Regions from separate parts of the Homo sapiens genome. Here region 2 is linked to region 1. Evidence: promoter capture Hi-C in 16 types of primary human blood cells and fetal thymus (Javierre and others, 2016). All regions are on one chromosome and are shown on one strand. The core of a region is centred on a gene start or on the middle of the fragment in contact, and the rest is flanking DNA. Distances in the headings are between cores, read along the strand shown.

What was found. The method cuts DNA at HindIII sites, captures the fragments that hold promoters and counts their contacts. A CHiCAGO score of 5 or more calls a contact.
Region 2: a fragment that was not itself captured here is called in contact with the fragment with the promoter of LINC00466 in region 1 in 1 of 17 cell types (monocytes); the score reaches 7.1 in monocytes.

What each region holds. Positions count from the first base shown.
Region 1 is chr1:63,311,489-63,318,692 of GRCh38, forward strand. It overlaps LINC00466 (long intergenic non-protein coding RNA 466), which reads right to left and starts at 5,769. Exons shown (of 12, transcript NR_038252.3): 1 at 5,570-5,769; 2 at 4,461-4,599. RefSeq lists a silencer at 5,915-6,094. The HindIII fragment of the contact is 23,330 bases long and covers 1-7,204 here.
Region 2 is chr1:63,512,621-63,519,560 of GRCh38, forward strand. All of the region lies in intron 1 of ITGB3BP (integrin subunit beta 3 binding protein), which reads right to left. It overlaps LOC102724319 (a long non-coding RNA gene), which reads left to right. Exons shown (of 3, transcript XR_426701.4): 3 at 5,136-5,174. Among named protein-coding and RNA genes, the nearest start is that of ITGB3BP, 7.1 kb to the right of the region's middle. The HindIII fragment of the contact is 5,782 bases long and covers 1,684-6,940 here.

The DNA.
Region 1 (7,204 bases), core at 4,519-7,018:
AGCTCAAATTGAGATACACACCATATTTCAAAGACTTAGTATGAAAAAAAAAAATAGGGCCGGGCGCAGTGGCTCACGCCTGCAATCCCAGCACTTTGGGAGGCCGAGGCGGGCAGATCATGAGGTCAGGAGATCGAGACCATCCTGGCTTACAAGGTGAAACCCCATCTCTACTAAAAATACAAAAAAATTAGCTGGGCGTGGTGGCGGGCACCTGTAGTCCCAGCTACTCGGGAGGCTGAGGCAGGAGAATGGCGTGAACCTGGGAGGCAGAGTTTGCAGTGAGCTGAGATCGTGCCACTGGACTTCAGCCTGGGCGACAGACAGAGCGAGACTCCGTCTCAAAAAAAAAAAAAAAAGAAAAAAAGAAAAAATCTTAAATTTTATATGGATTACATGCTGAAATATTAATATTTTTAGGTATAATAAAAATAAATATTTTTGGGTTAAATAAAATGTATCATTAAAATCAATTTTACTTAGGTTAATGGCATAACATTAGAAAAAATCAACTTTATGTGTTTCTGTTTAGTTTTTTAAAAAAACTTTTGTGGGTACATAGTAGTTGTATATATTTATGGGGTATATGAGATACTTTGATACAGGCATGCGATACACAACAATCACATCATGGTAAATGGGGTATCCTTCCCGTCAAGCATTTATCCTTTGTGTTACAAACAATCCAATTGTACTCTTTTAGTTTTGTTTTTTTGTTTTGTTTTGTTTTGAGACAGAGTCTGGCTCTGTCACCTAGGCTGGCATGCAGTGGCATGATCTTGGTTCACTGCAACCTCCACCTCCGGGGTCCCGGTGATTCTCCCGCCTCAGCCTCCTGAGTAGCTGGGGCTACAGACACGCACCACCACACCTGACTAATTTTTGTATTTTTAGTAGAGAAGGGGTTTCACCATGTTGGCCAGGCTGGTCTCAAACTCCTGACCTCAGATGATCTGCCCACCTTGGCTTCCCAAAGTGCTGGGATTACAGGCGTGAGCCACCGCACCCAGCCTCTTTTAGTTATTTCTAAATGTACAATTAAGTTATTATTGACTATGGTCACCCTGTTGTGCTGTCAAATACTGTCTTACTCATTCTTTCTAAATATATTTTGTACCCATCTGTTTACTTTTTAAAATGTGGGTATTAGAAATTTAAAAGTACATACATGGCTCCTTACCTCCTACTAATTATCTCTACTTAGAAATTCCACTAGCACCTCAAATTCAGTATGTGTAAAACTAAACTCATCTTCCCCCTTTCAGCCCATTGTCCACACTGATGATACAGTGATATTGCTAAAACACATATCCAGTTACATCACTTCCCTGCTCAAAATTCTGTAATAGTCACTTTCAGGAAAAAAAAAAAGAAAAAAGAAAAAATCTAAGCCTCTCAGTCTCTACCTTCAAGGGCTTACAACATCTGCCTCTCTTACTCTTCACAAGTAAACTGAAAATTCCTAGAAGGCTGGGACTATGTCTCTTAATAAAATTAAAATAAAAATAAATAAAAAATAAAAAAACAGGGAAAAGCATTACAATCAATTAAGAAAATTTTTTGAGTGATCCTTAACTATGTGCCAACTCTATTCTAAGTGATTTGGATGTCCTTAATCCTTACAAAAACCCCATAAGGAAGATGCCATTATCTCCATTTTACAAGTAAGGATATGAGGCACAGAGAGTTTAAGGAACTTACCCAAGGTCATATAACTGGTAAAGGACGGAGGCCACAGTGTGTCCTGGAAATGCATTATAGTCCCATAGGTCAGGGGCATGGAGTGCAAAGGAAACTAGAAGGTATATTGGAGCCAGATTATGGCACACCTGAAGTATCTTACTAAAGGGTTTGGGTTTTCTTCTACAAGCAATGAGGTAGCATTAAACAGTTTTGCTTTTGTTTTGTTTTGTATGAGACAAGGTCTCTATCTCTCAGGCTAAAGTGCAGTGGCAGGATCATAGATCACTACAGCCTCAACCTCCTGGGCTCAATCAAGCCTCTTGCCTCAGCCTCCCAAGTAGCTGGGACCATGAGCATGCACCACCATGCCCAGCTAACTTTTTACTTTTTTGTAGAGACAGGGTCTTGTTATGTTTTCCAGATTGGTCTCAAACTGCTGGCTCAAGCGATCCTCCTGCCTCAGCCTCCCAAAGTGCTGGAATTACAGGCATGAGCCATCATGCTCAATGTGCATTAAATGTTTTTGATCAGAGGAGTGACTGGCGTGCTCCAACTGACATTTAAGGAAATAATTTGAGTAGTCATGTCTATGACTGAGGAACAAGGGACTAGAGAGTGTTTCTCCATCTGTAGTCTCCTCAATTGATGATAACACCATTTCTTCTAGACATGCAAATTTCATATCTGGGAGTTACTGTGAAATCTTTCTCCCTTAGCAATCAGACACTTAGTTCCATCCATTTTACTTCTTCAGTCCTCTCAAAGTCATCATCATCTCCTCTTCTCCAGTCTCACTGCCAATAATTTAAATCATACCTTCTTCATCTCTTACTAAGATAACGAAATAGCCTCCTTGCTATCTCCAGTCTTTTACTCCCTCAGTTTATCCTTCACATTCCCGCAAAGAATAGTTCCAAAATTTTATTTCAATCATGCCAATCAGTTAAAGACTTTACTGGCTTCTTAATAACTTTGGGCTCTTCAGCCCAGTATTCAAGAGTCTTTATTATTTTACTCTGGCCATTCCCTTATCTCATTTCAGTTAAACCAAACTATATGCTGCTCCTCGTGTCTTGCATAAATCTGTGTCTTTACTCGTGCTGTGTTCTCTTTCTTTTCCCAGAACTCTGTTCCTCTTTTTCTTTACCTAACTGCTGCTTATCATTCACAACAGCTCAAATATTATTTCCTTTTTTTTTTTTGAGACGGAGTCTCGCTCTGTAGCCCAGGCTGGAGTGCATTGGGGCAATCTCTGCTCACTGCAAGCTCCGCCCCCCGGGTTCACGCCATTCTCCTGCCTCAGCCTCCCGAATAGCTGGGACTACAGGCGCCGGCCACCACGCCCGGCTAATTTTTTGTATTTTCAGTAGAGACGGGGTTTCACTGTGGTCTCGATCTCCTGACCTCGTGACCCGCCCGCCTCGGCCTCCTAAAGTGCTGGGATTACAAGCGTGAGCCACCGCGCCGGACAGTTCAAGTATTATTTCTTAGGGAAACCTTCCTACCCACCTATTCTCTTTCCCAGGCAGAGTTAGTTATGTTTCTTTTGCGCTCCTGTAACATTCTATCATATATTTATAACTCATCACACTACATTTTAGCTATGGACTTCCCTGAATAAGTCCCCCATTAGAGTGAGAATGTGTCTTACTGATCGGGTTATTCAAGCAATATTTATTGAGCCACACCTCCACCCCTACACCACTAGTACTTGGCTGGAGGCTAGGGATACAACAGTGAACAGATAAAAATTCCTGCCCTTCTGGAATTAACATTCTAAAGGTGGAATCTATCTTCTTACTCACCTTTGTGGTTCCAGTGTCTGGCCCTTGATGAATACGATAAGGTTAGAAAAACAGCTGGGTCTAACAACTAGCCTTTTGAATATTTTCTTTTCAAAGGATCTTTTCCTTTATCTACGTTCCCTTTTAAATTTCTTCCATGTGTTTGTTAGTCAAATACTTCCATGTAGTCTAAATGTACTATACCTAGACAAAATGTCTAAGCAAATTTCAATTTTTACATTTCCCTTCTCTCTTCTTCCATCCCTTTCTGTTTCCTTATCATACATCTATTGTCCATTTCCCTTGAGACCAAGTACTTTCTGGCTGTCCAGAAGTACCATTAGGCATCCAACTTAGCACTTTCTTTTCCCAAAGTATCCCGGGTTCTAACTTACTTCTCCCCAATCTCCCCTGAAAACCCCTAAAGTCAGAGGTAGCTGGTCAGTAGCATCTTCCGTATTGAAGGCTTCACACTTTCTCTATCCCTACCCAGTGAGAAAGGCCCTCCTCTGCGCTGTTTCCCCTTGCCATGGCACCTATCAACCTGCATGACAAACACTGATTCTCTTGCCTGGTTCTTCCTTAAGGAACCTTGGGTTTAATTCTTCTTTTCATTCCTGGTACTTTCCAGGTCTACAACAGTTCAATAAATTACTAATAAGGAATAAATGAGTAAATAAATATATATTGTATACTTATATATCCTCTCCCCCTGAATTCAGCTGTGGGTATGACTTAAATCCAAGAAATTTTGGATTAAAATGAGAGTTACCAAAAAAGGCAGCTTTGACCCAAGGAAAACTTGTTTCTTTAAAAATGTTAGAAGAATTTAAATTTTTAAAATGTGTTTTGGCCTGGCAGGATGGTTCACACCTTTAATCCCAGCACTTTGAGAGGCTGAGGTGGGAGGATCGTTTGAGGCCAAGAGCTTGAGACTAGCCTGGGCAACAGAGCGAGATCCCATCTCTACAAAAAATAAAAATAAAAAATTACCTGGGTGTGGTGGTGTGCATCTGTACTCCCAGCTACTCGAGAGGCTAAGGCAGGAGGATCACTTGAGCCCAGGAGGTCGAGGGCTGCAGCCATCTACAATTGCACCACTGTACTCCAGCCTGAGACACAGAGTGAGACCCTGTCTCAAAGAAAAACAAAAAAATGTGTTTCGATATCCGCGATCCATGTCACATCTGTTAGTGTACCTTTAGTACATGACTTCTGCATTGTTTGCTAACTGACATTCTGTGTGAATAAAGCGTGTATCACAATGGTGTTTCCGTATGTTATCCAAGTGGGTCCTTTCCCCAGGATGTGAGTGAGCCTTTGGCATGGTCTTTTTAAGATTTTGCCAAGGGAAGACTGGGCTGGAACTAAGGAGCTAACATACCATTGAAATCAAATATCCCGTTGGGTGCACTGGAGGGTAGAGAAGAGGGGATTCCTGCACTCACGCTAAATGATAAACTTTTCCAAGGGCAGGGTCGTGAGAGGTCTTCCAGGTCACCTAGTGTTCTGAGTCATGCAGAAGTAGGAAATGGACACAATACTCCCCGCAGAGAATCCTTCCCACAGGACTGATCCTGTCCCTTCCTCCCCTCCCCCGCCCCACACAAGGCGGAATCCCCACGCAGTGCACTGCAGGCGCGGTGGCCACTGCCCCTAGAACCAGATCTCTCCCCCAGTCCCGTCCTCTCCAAGCTCCAGATATGTCAAGGATTCTTAAGCAGGGGTTTTCCAATCTGTCCCTTGAGGAACTACCCCTGAGGCAAGGCGGGCAGGCCCAAGCTGCGATGTGGAGAATTCGATGTCCGAGCGACCTCCTCGGAGGAGTGGGTCGAGTTAAATATAACCGCGCGAATGGAATGGCGCTAAAAATAAGGCAGCAGCTGGCCTGTCCACAGCCCTGTCCCGGGAGGGGCGGGGGCCCCAGTGGTCTTGGGCAGGAAGGCCGCGTCCGGCCCAGGGGCGAGAAGGCTGCGGCGTCCGCAGCCAGGGCTGGAAGGCCTGGGAGGCCGCGCTCTGTGGGCCCCGGGGCCTCCATTCGGGCTGGGTCGCGGGCCTGGACGGGGACTGTCCAGAGGCATCCGAAAGCCAGGCCAACTTGCCTGGACGTAACAAGACGGAAGGGCTGGGCGCTGAGGTCCTGCCAGCCCGGCCGCCAGAGGGAGCTGAGCGCCAGAGGAGGACAAGCCGAACCCTTCAGGAGGCCGGGCGTCTCCGGAGACCGAAGCGCCGGAGGACCCGAGGAGGTCTGCCCCGCGCGCTGCTCTGGAGACTCCCGGGGCGGGTGGCGCTCGGCCTTTCCGCTCCCTTCCTTCCCACAAGTCCCTTCCCGCGCGCGCCCCACGGCCCTGCCCGCCCTCCCGCGTCAGCGCCCCAACCGTCAAGCCAGCAATTGAAACGTTTCCAAAACGGTCTATTTATTTGCTCCCAATAAATCGATCGGCGGTGATTAAAGAATCGATGTGGCCTGGGTGGGCGAGTCGCTTGAGGGGAGGGATTGGGGGCTTTCGCCCGGCGCCTGCAGGGAGGCCGAGGGCGGGCGCGGGCCTGAGGGAGGCGTGTCCCGCCCGGGCCACACCCGAGGACCCGACACCTGGGCTGGCAGGCCCCGGCAGGCAGCGTTCCCTCCGGCGGAGAGGGGCGCGCGCCCGCCGCCTGCTTTCCTCGGCCCCTCTCGCCTTTCTCGCGCGCCGGGGAGGCTGTGGCCGCCAGTGGCTGCGGAGCTGCTCAGAGGCTTTTGTTGCTCCTCGGCCGGCTGAATGGGGATTTTGTAAAGCGGGACAGATAAAAATGAGCAGCATCATATTGTTTGACAGAATGATCTCGCATGATGAAGTGTCGGCTCCGAAGGGGGTGAAAATGGTGAATTCCTAAAAACCCAGCCCTGGGCTCCTCCTCGAGCTGCCGGTAGCCTGGAGGGACCCAGCGGACAGCCGGGCCTGGCCGCATCGCTCCAAACGGTGTCAGAAAGACTCCGGCTTTCAATGCCAAGTCATTTTTAAGCCCCGATCCTGTCCAGGACCTTTCTCCTCGTGGATGAAAAGAACAATTTTCGAGAGAAAGGCTCGTTTTTATTAAATCCGACATGCTGCTGATAACTCCATGCTAATGTGAAATAATTAACATAATAGCCATAATTAAAAGCACGCTAACAATGCCATAAATTTATCACACAATTTTACTAGCTTTCTGCCCCTAACTGCTCTCTCATCGTTAATTAAACGTGTTGCCTTTTACAGAATGGATGTTTATATATTTCCAATATAAATAAATTCGAAACCATCCTCTCTCTCTTCCTCTTTCTCTCCTCCTTTCCTTTTGGTCTCTCGCCATTTACAGGCACGCCTTGGCGTGGACCCTGAGTGGCAGACATCTTGAAAATAAATGAAGTTTTGAGATGCAAATCCAAACAAGAACATTAAAATAGCCTCTTTTTTTCCACCCCGAAAAGATCCGGAGAGGTATACAAGGGGGTAGTGGTGGGTAAGAGAGTTGAAAATCCCCCGCTTTGGGAAATGGAAGTAATCTGGGTGGGTTGGGGCCTTGGGTACCACCTCTGCCCTTTCCCACCTTCCTTGGTGGCGGCCATCCAGACAAAGAGGCCGGTAATAGTTTAACAAATCTATGAAGATTTTCAAGAAGCAGCAGACTTTGATTGTTGCGGGCGCGGGGGTGTTGGGGAGAAAGGAGGGGAATTTTTCTAATAGTCCCACCCACGTTTTGCTCCCTCTTGGACA
Region 2 (6,940 bases), core at 3,325-5,824, 200 kb after region 1:
TTCCCTAAGGTTGGGCAAATCACATAATCTCACTAAGCTTCATAAAGTTGATAATAACACAGGCCTGTAAAGTAGTAAGAAATTTCTGAGTGGAAGATAAAAATATCACTGAGTATTTCAGTGCTTCCATTTACTCCACACTATAATAGAGATGATAATATTGCCAGCTACAACTTCACAGGAGTGTTTAGAGTATTACTGAGTATGCTTGTGAGATTCTTAGAAATCCTTTGATGAAAGGCAATGGCCAAATTCACATTCCATGTGACTCCTTAAATGTAAACCTTTTGTTTTCCTTGACCTGGACATTTTTCAAGACTGCAGGCCATTTTTATTTTTATTTTTGTAGACTATCCCTCAATTTGGGCCTATCTGATATTTCCCCATGATTAGGTTATGCATATTTGGCATAAATATCACAGAAGTGATGTTGCATCCTTCTGAGAGCATAACTTGAGGCACTTGATCTTGATGTATTGTAATATCAGTGATATAAATTTTGACCATTAAGATATTATCTTCCAGTTTTCTCCAATGTAGTAAATAAGAAATCTTATAAAGAGCCACTAATGATCATTCCTTTTATATTTATTAGTTAGCATTACATTCCAAGAAAAGCCTTTCAGTTCTCCTTCCTTTATTCATTTATATCACTACAGTGTCACAGATTTTTATGTTAGCCAATGGATTTTAAGCCATTCCTATCATTATTTATTTTGATGTTTAACTGTCCCAAATTTGGCAATGGGACCATTCTTCCCCTTCACCCTGGCTCCTGTTTAACCTATGTACCCATAACGCTTTGAGCACTTCCTACCTTTCCAGCATACACAAAAAGTTTTCTCTGCACCAGCTTTGGAATCAGCTTTTTCTCCAATGAGACCTAGCTCTTTTTAGTGGACAATGGTATTTAGACACCAAAATCTGGGCACTAAATGTGTTCACTGTTACTTACGTCATCGCTTACAGTCTCTCTCAGAGGACAGAGCTGGAACACACATCACACACACACACAAAAACATTTCTATCTACCTCTATCTTTAATATGTATATTTTTAAAAACTATGATTTCATATTGACATCTCCAATGCCAAGTCAAGAAATTTGAAATTCCTCCATCCAAAGGTGAGAAACTGGCTCCCATCATCCACAATACACTTACTCATTTGACCAAGCCTAGAACACATAAAAACTAGTTTCAGAAGTGCTAACACATACCACCATGGAAAGCAAATCTCTTACTCAAGTTCAGTATTTGCCTAATATTTTTAATGTAAAATTTACATATAGCAAGCAGCACAAATATTAAGTGTATAGATGCGAGTTTTAACAAACATGTACTATATCCCTGAAACTCACATCCATATCAAGATATGGAATATTTGAATCATATGAGGAGGGTACCTCAGGCTCCCTCCAAGTCCATAATCTATACCATACACAACTACTTTTCTAATTTTTTCCAGCATAGATTACTTTTGCCTATTCTAGAATTTCATATAAATAGAACTATACAGTATGTACTTGTGTCTATTTTCTCTGCTCAGCATAACTGTTAGATTCACCCAGGTTGTTGCACATCAGTAGATCATTTATTTTTAATTAATATTCTATCTTAATAAGCCATTTATTTGTTTTCCTGTTGATGGACACTTGGTTTTAGTTTTTAGCCATTATGAGTAAAGCTTCCAAGAACACCTTTTACAAGTTTTTTTGTTTTGTTTTGTTTTCCTTAGCTATACTGCATTCAGTTTTCTTGGATAAATAAATACCTAGAAGTAGAGGTGCTAGATCATTGGGTAGGTGTATATTTATTTAATTTCATAAGAAACTGCCAAAATGTCTAGCAACATGTTATGGTTCATTTGTGTATCTTCTTTTATTAACTATTGGTTCAAATCTTTGGGCCATTATTTTAATAACATTTTTGTCTTTCTACTGTTGATTAGTAAGAGTTCTTTCTTATCCTAAATATAAATCCTTTGTCTGATATATATCTGTTACATACTTTCTCCCAGTCAGTTGTTTGAAAATTTACTTTTTTTGGCTGGGCATGGTGGCTCACACCTCTAATCCCATCACTTTGGGAGGCCAAGGTGGGCAGACCACAAGGTCAAGAGACTGAGACCATCCTGGTCAACATGGTAAAAGCCCATCTCTCCTAAAAATACAAAAATTAGCTGGGTGTGGTGGTGCACACCTGTAGTCCCCGCTACTCGGGAGGCTGAGACAGGAGAATCGCTTGAACCCAGGAGACGGAGGTTGCAGTGAGCCAAGATCGTGCCACTGCACTCCAGCCTGGTGACAGAGCGAGACTCTGTCTCAAAAAAAAAAAAAAAAAAAAGAAAAACAGAAAATTTACTTTTTTTAACGGTATCTCTTGATGAGCAAAAGTTTAAAAGTTAGATGAAGCATAATTTATCATTTTTTCTTTTATAATTATTGCTTTCCGCGTCTTGCCTGAAATTTCACCTACTTCAGACTGTAAAAATATTCTCAAATATTTCCCTCCAGAAACTTTCCTTTTTACATTTAGGACTAAAATGTATCTCAAATTAATTTTTGTATGTAATATAAGGTGAAGGTCAAGGTGTTTTGTTTTTTTCCCCACTGGGTATGCCAGCACCACTTGGGAAGAAAATCTTCTGTTATCCCCACTGAGCTGCTTTGGTACCTTTGTGGGTCTATTTCTGGACTTTCTATTCTATTCTATTTACCTATTTCTCTATATGCCCAAACCACATTGAGTTCATTACCAACACTTTATGCCATGTCTAGTTAGTGTACATACTCCAACTTCATTCTTTTTTTTCAAAATTGTTTTGGCTACTGCAAGTCACTTGCCTTTCCATACAAATTTTGAAATCAGTTTTCAATTTCTAAAAAACGTTTGCTTGAAGAACTAAAAATAGAACTACCATTCAACGCCAGGCACGATGGTTCACGCCTGTAATCCCAGGACTTTGGGAGGCTGAGGTGGGCAGATTACAAGGTCAGGAGTTCAAGACCAGCCTGATCAATATGGTGAAACCCCATCTCTACTAAAAATACAAAAATTAGCCAGGCATGGTGGTGCATGCTTGTAGTCCCAGCTACTCAGGAGGCTGAGACAGGAGAATCACTTGAACTCGGGAGGCGGAGGTTGCAGTGAGCCAAGATTGCACCACTGCACTCCAGTCTGGACAACAGAGCAAGACTCCAACTTAAAAAAAAAAAAAAAAAAAAAAAAAAAAGAACTACCCAGCAACCACCACACTACTGGGTATCTATCAAAGGAAAATAAATCATTATATCAAAAAGACAAATGTACTTGTACATTTATTGTAGCACTATTCACAACAGCAAAGTCATGGAATCATCTTGTGTCCATCAATGGATGACTGGATAAAGAAATGTGGTATATATACACCATGGAACACTATGCAGCCATAAAAAAGAATGATACCGTGTTGTTCTGCAACAACATGAATAGAGCTGGAAATCATTATCTTAACTGGAATAACTCAGAAGCAGAAAATTAGGCCAGGCATGGTGGCTCACATCTGTAATCCCAACACTTTGGGAGGCTGAGCTGAGCAGATTGCTTGAGTCCAGAGTGAGCCTGGGAGGCAGAGGTTGTGGTGAGCAAACTGCACCACTGCACTCTAGCCTGGGTGACAGAGCAAGACCATGTCTCAAAAAAAAAAAAAAAAAAAAAGAGGAGAGGGGAGGGGAAGGGAAGCGGAGCGGGGGAAGGTGGGGGAGAAGGGGGGGGGAAGGGAAAAGGAAAGAAAAGAAAGAAAACAAGAGAAAAAAGAGGAAAGGAAAGCAAAGAAAATCAACTGGGTGTGGCAGTGCTCACACCTGTGATCTCAGCATTTTAGGAGGCTAAGGCATGAGGATTGTTTGAGATCAACATGGGCAACACAATGAGACTCTGTCTTTACAAAAAAATTAAAAATTAGGCCAGTGTGGTGGTGTACACCTGTAGTCCCAGCTACTTGGAAGGCTGAGGCAGGAGGATCACTTGAGCCCAGGAGGTGAAGGTTGCAGTGAGCCATGTTCATGCCACTGCAGTCCAGCCTGGGTGACAGAGTAAGACCTTGTTTCATGAAAAAAAAAAAAAAAGAAAAAAGAAAAAAAAAGAAAAGCAAATACCACATGTTCTCATCTATTAGTGGGAGCTAAACAATGGGTACATATGAACATACAGAGGGAAATAATAGACACTGAGACTTCAAAAGGAGGAAGTATGGGAGGAAGGTGAGGGTTGAAAAATTATCTTTCGGGTACAATGTTCACTATTTGTGTGATGGGCACCTACGAGCTCAAACCTCACCATTATGCAATATATCCTTGTAACAAATCTGCACATATACACCCTGAGTCTATAAAAAATAAAAACAAATAAGTTAGGTATAAATGATCATACTCAAAAAAAGAAAGTACAAAGAAGGAAAATTAGATTACATGAAAAATGAAATATAAAACAGAAAAGATAAAGATAATACCAAATACTATTATACAAGTTTTCATCCACTTAACTTTTTTTAAAAAAGATCCATTTTAAACAGTAGAAATAAAAAAAGAGCAAAACTTAAAAAGAAATGTTTGTTAGGATTATGACAGGGATTGCATTAAATCTAAACATTGGTGAGAACTAACATTTTAATAATACCACATTTATCACTTAAAAATACTCTCACCAGCATGGCACATGTATATATATGTAACTAACCTGCACATTGTGCACATGTACCCTAAAACTTAAAGTATAATAATAAAAAAATAAAAATAAATAAAAATAAATAAAAAATAAATAAAAATACTCTCATTTATCTTCATCTTTAATTTCTCTAAGGAACATTTTGTAATTTTCACTGTAGAGGTCTTGCATGTCTTATGCTAAATTATTATATGTTTTTATGTAATTATAAATGAAAAATCTTAAACTTCAATTTCCAGGTGTTTATTCCTGAAATATAGAAATATATTGATCTTTGTACACTGATTTTGCATCCTACATCCTTGCTAAATTGTTCTGAAAATTGTTTTATAGATTTTTTAGGATTTTCTTCATACATGATGTCATTGTTGAATCATTAATTTTACTTTTTCCTTTTTTGTTGTTGTTGTTTTTGTTTGTCTTGAGACAGGGTCATCCAGGCTGGAATGCAAGTGACACAATCACAGCTCACTGCAGCCTTGACTTCCTCGGCTCAAGTGATCCTCCTGCCTCAGCCTCCCAAGTAGCTGGGACTACAGGCACGTAACGTCACACCTTGTTAATTTTCATATTTTTTCGTAGAGACAGCGTTTTGCCATATTGCCCAGGCTAATCTTGAACTACTGGGCTCAAGCAATCTGCCTGTCTCAGCCTCCCAAAGTGATGGGATTACCGGCATGAGCCACTGGGCCTGGCCCCACTTTTTCCTTTTTAACACTATGGGTGTTTTTCTGTGTGTGCTTTTTTGAATAGAAGTGGTGAGAGGGCACGTTCTTGCCTTTTTCCTAATCTTAAAAAAGTTTTCGATACTAAATATATTATCTATAGGTTTTTCAAAGAAATGAGAAGTTGCCTCCTATTCCTAGTTTGCTGAGGGTTTTATTTTCTCACGAATGGGTATGTTCTCTGTACAATTAACCAATGAAATCGTCTGGGTCTTTGTGGGAAGATTCTTAGTAACAAATTCTATTTCCTTAATTATGCAGATTTTCTGTATCATCTTATGCCATCATGCTAAGTTGTATTTTTCAAGGAATTTGTCAATTTTGTATAAGTTGTCAAGTTTACTGGAATAAAGGCTTTAATGATATTACCTCTTTCAATATCTATAGCATCTTTAGTGGTATTCTGCTCTTTCATTTTGGATATTGATAGTTTATGTTCTCTTTCATCTAAGTACAATTTACCCTTTCATTCTGGATATTGATCATTTGGTTTCTCTCCTGTTAGACTGTTATATCTACCTTTCCCTTTCTTTTCTTTCTTTTTTTTTTTTAACTTTCAACTTTGTTGCTTATAGACAGTAAAGAGTTAGGACTTGCTTTAAAAAAAAATCTAGCCTTATAATATTCTCTACCTTTTTCACTGATGTCTTTACTGCACTTAAACTTGTAATTATCTGGTTGGGGCTACCATTTAGATAGTTGTTTTCTATTTGTCCCATCTGTTTTTGTTCCTTTGTTCTTTTTTACCTGCCTTCTTTTGAATTAACATTATTTTTAAATATATCATTTCAATTCCTCTATTTGTTTTTTAGGTATGCCTCTCTGCATTTTCAGAGGTTACTCTGGGGATTACAGTATGCCTTTTTAACATACCACAGTCTATCTAGAGTTATAATAATACAGTACTACTTCATGTAAAAGAGAAGAATCTTGCAACATTATAGTCAACTCCCTCTACACTTTGTGCCACTGGTATCATATATATTATGTCTACATATAACCCCATAATAGTGTTTAATTTTTGCTTTAAACATTCTCACCTTTTTAAGAAGTTGCAAGCAAAAAATATATAGATGCTCCTTGACTTACAACAGGATTATGTTACAACAAACCCATTGTAAATTGAAAATGTTAGTTGAAAATGCATTTCACACATTTAACCTACTGAACATCACAGCTTAAACATGTTGAGAACTCTTAAATTAACTTATAGTTGGGTAAATCATCTAACCCAAAATCTCTTTTAAAATAAAGTGTTGAACATCTCATGTAATTTATTGAATATTGTGCTGAAAGTAAAGAAAAGAATGGTTGTATGGGTACTTAAAGTAGTTTCTACTGAATGCATATTGCTTTCACACTATTATGAAGTCAAAAAATTCTAAGTTAAATAGACAGGTGAGAGCCACCACGCTCAGCCAAAAAGGCTCTATTATACCTTCCTCTATTAGACTTTACTGACTTTTACAAGCAGGAAAGAATTGCATTTAAATTTCATATTTTTCTTATA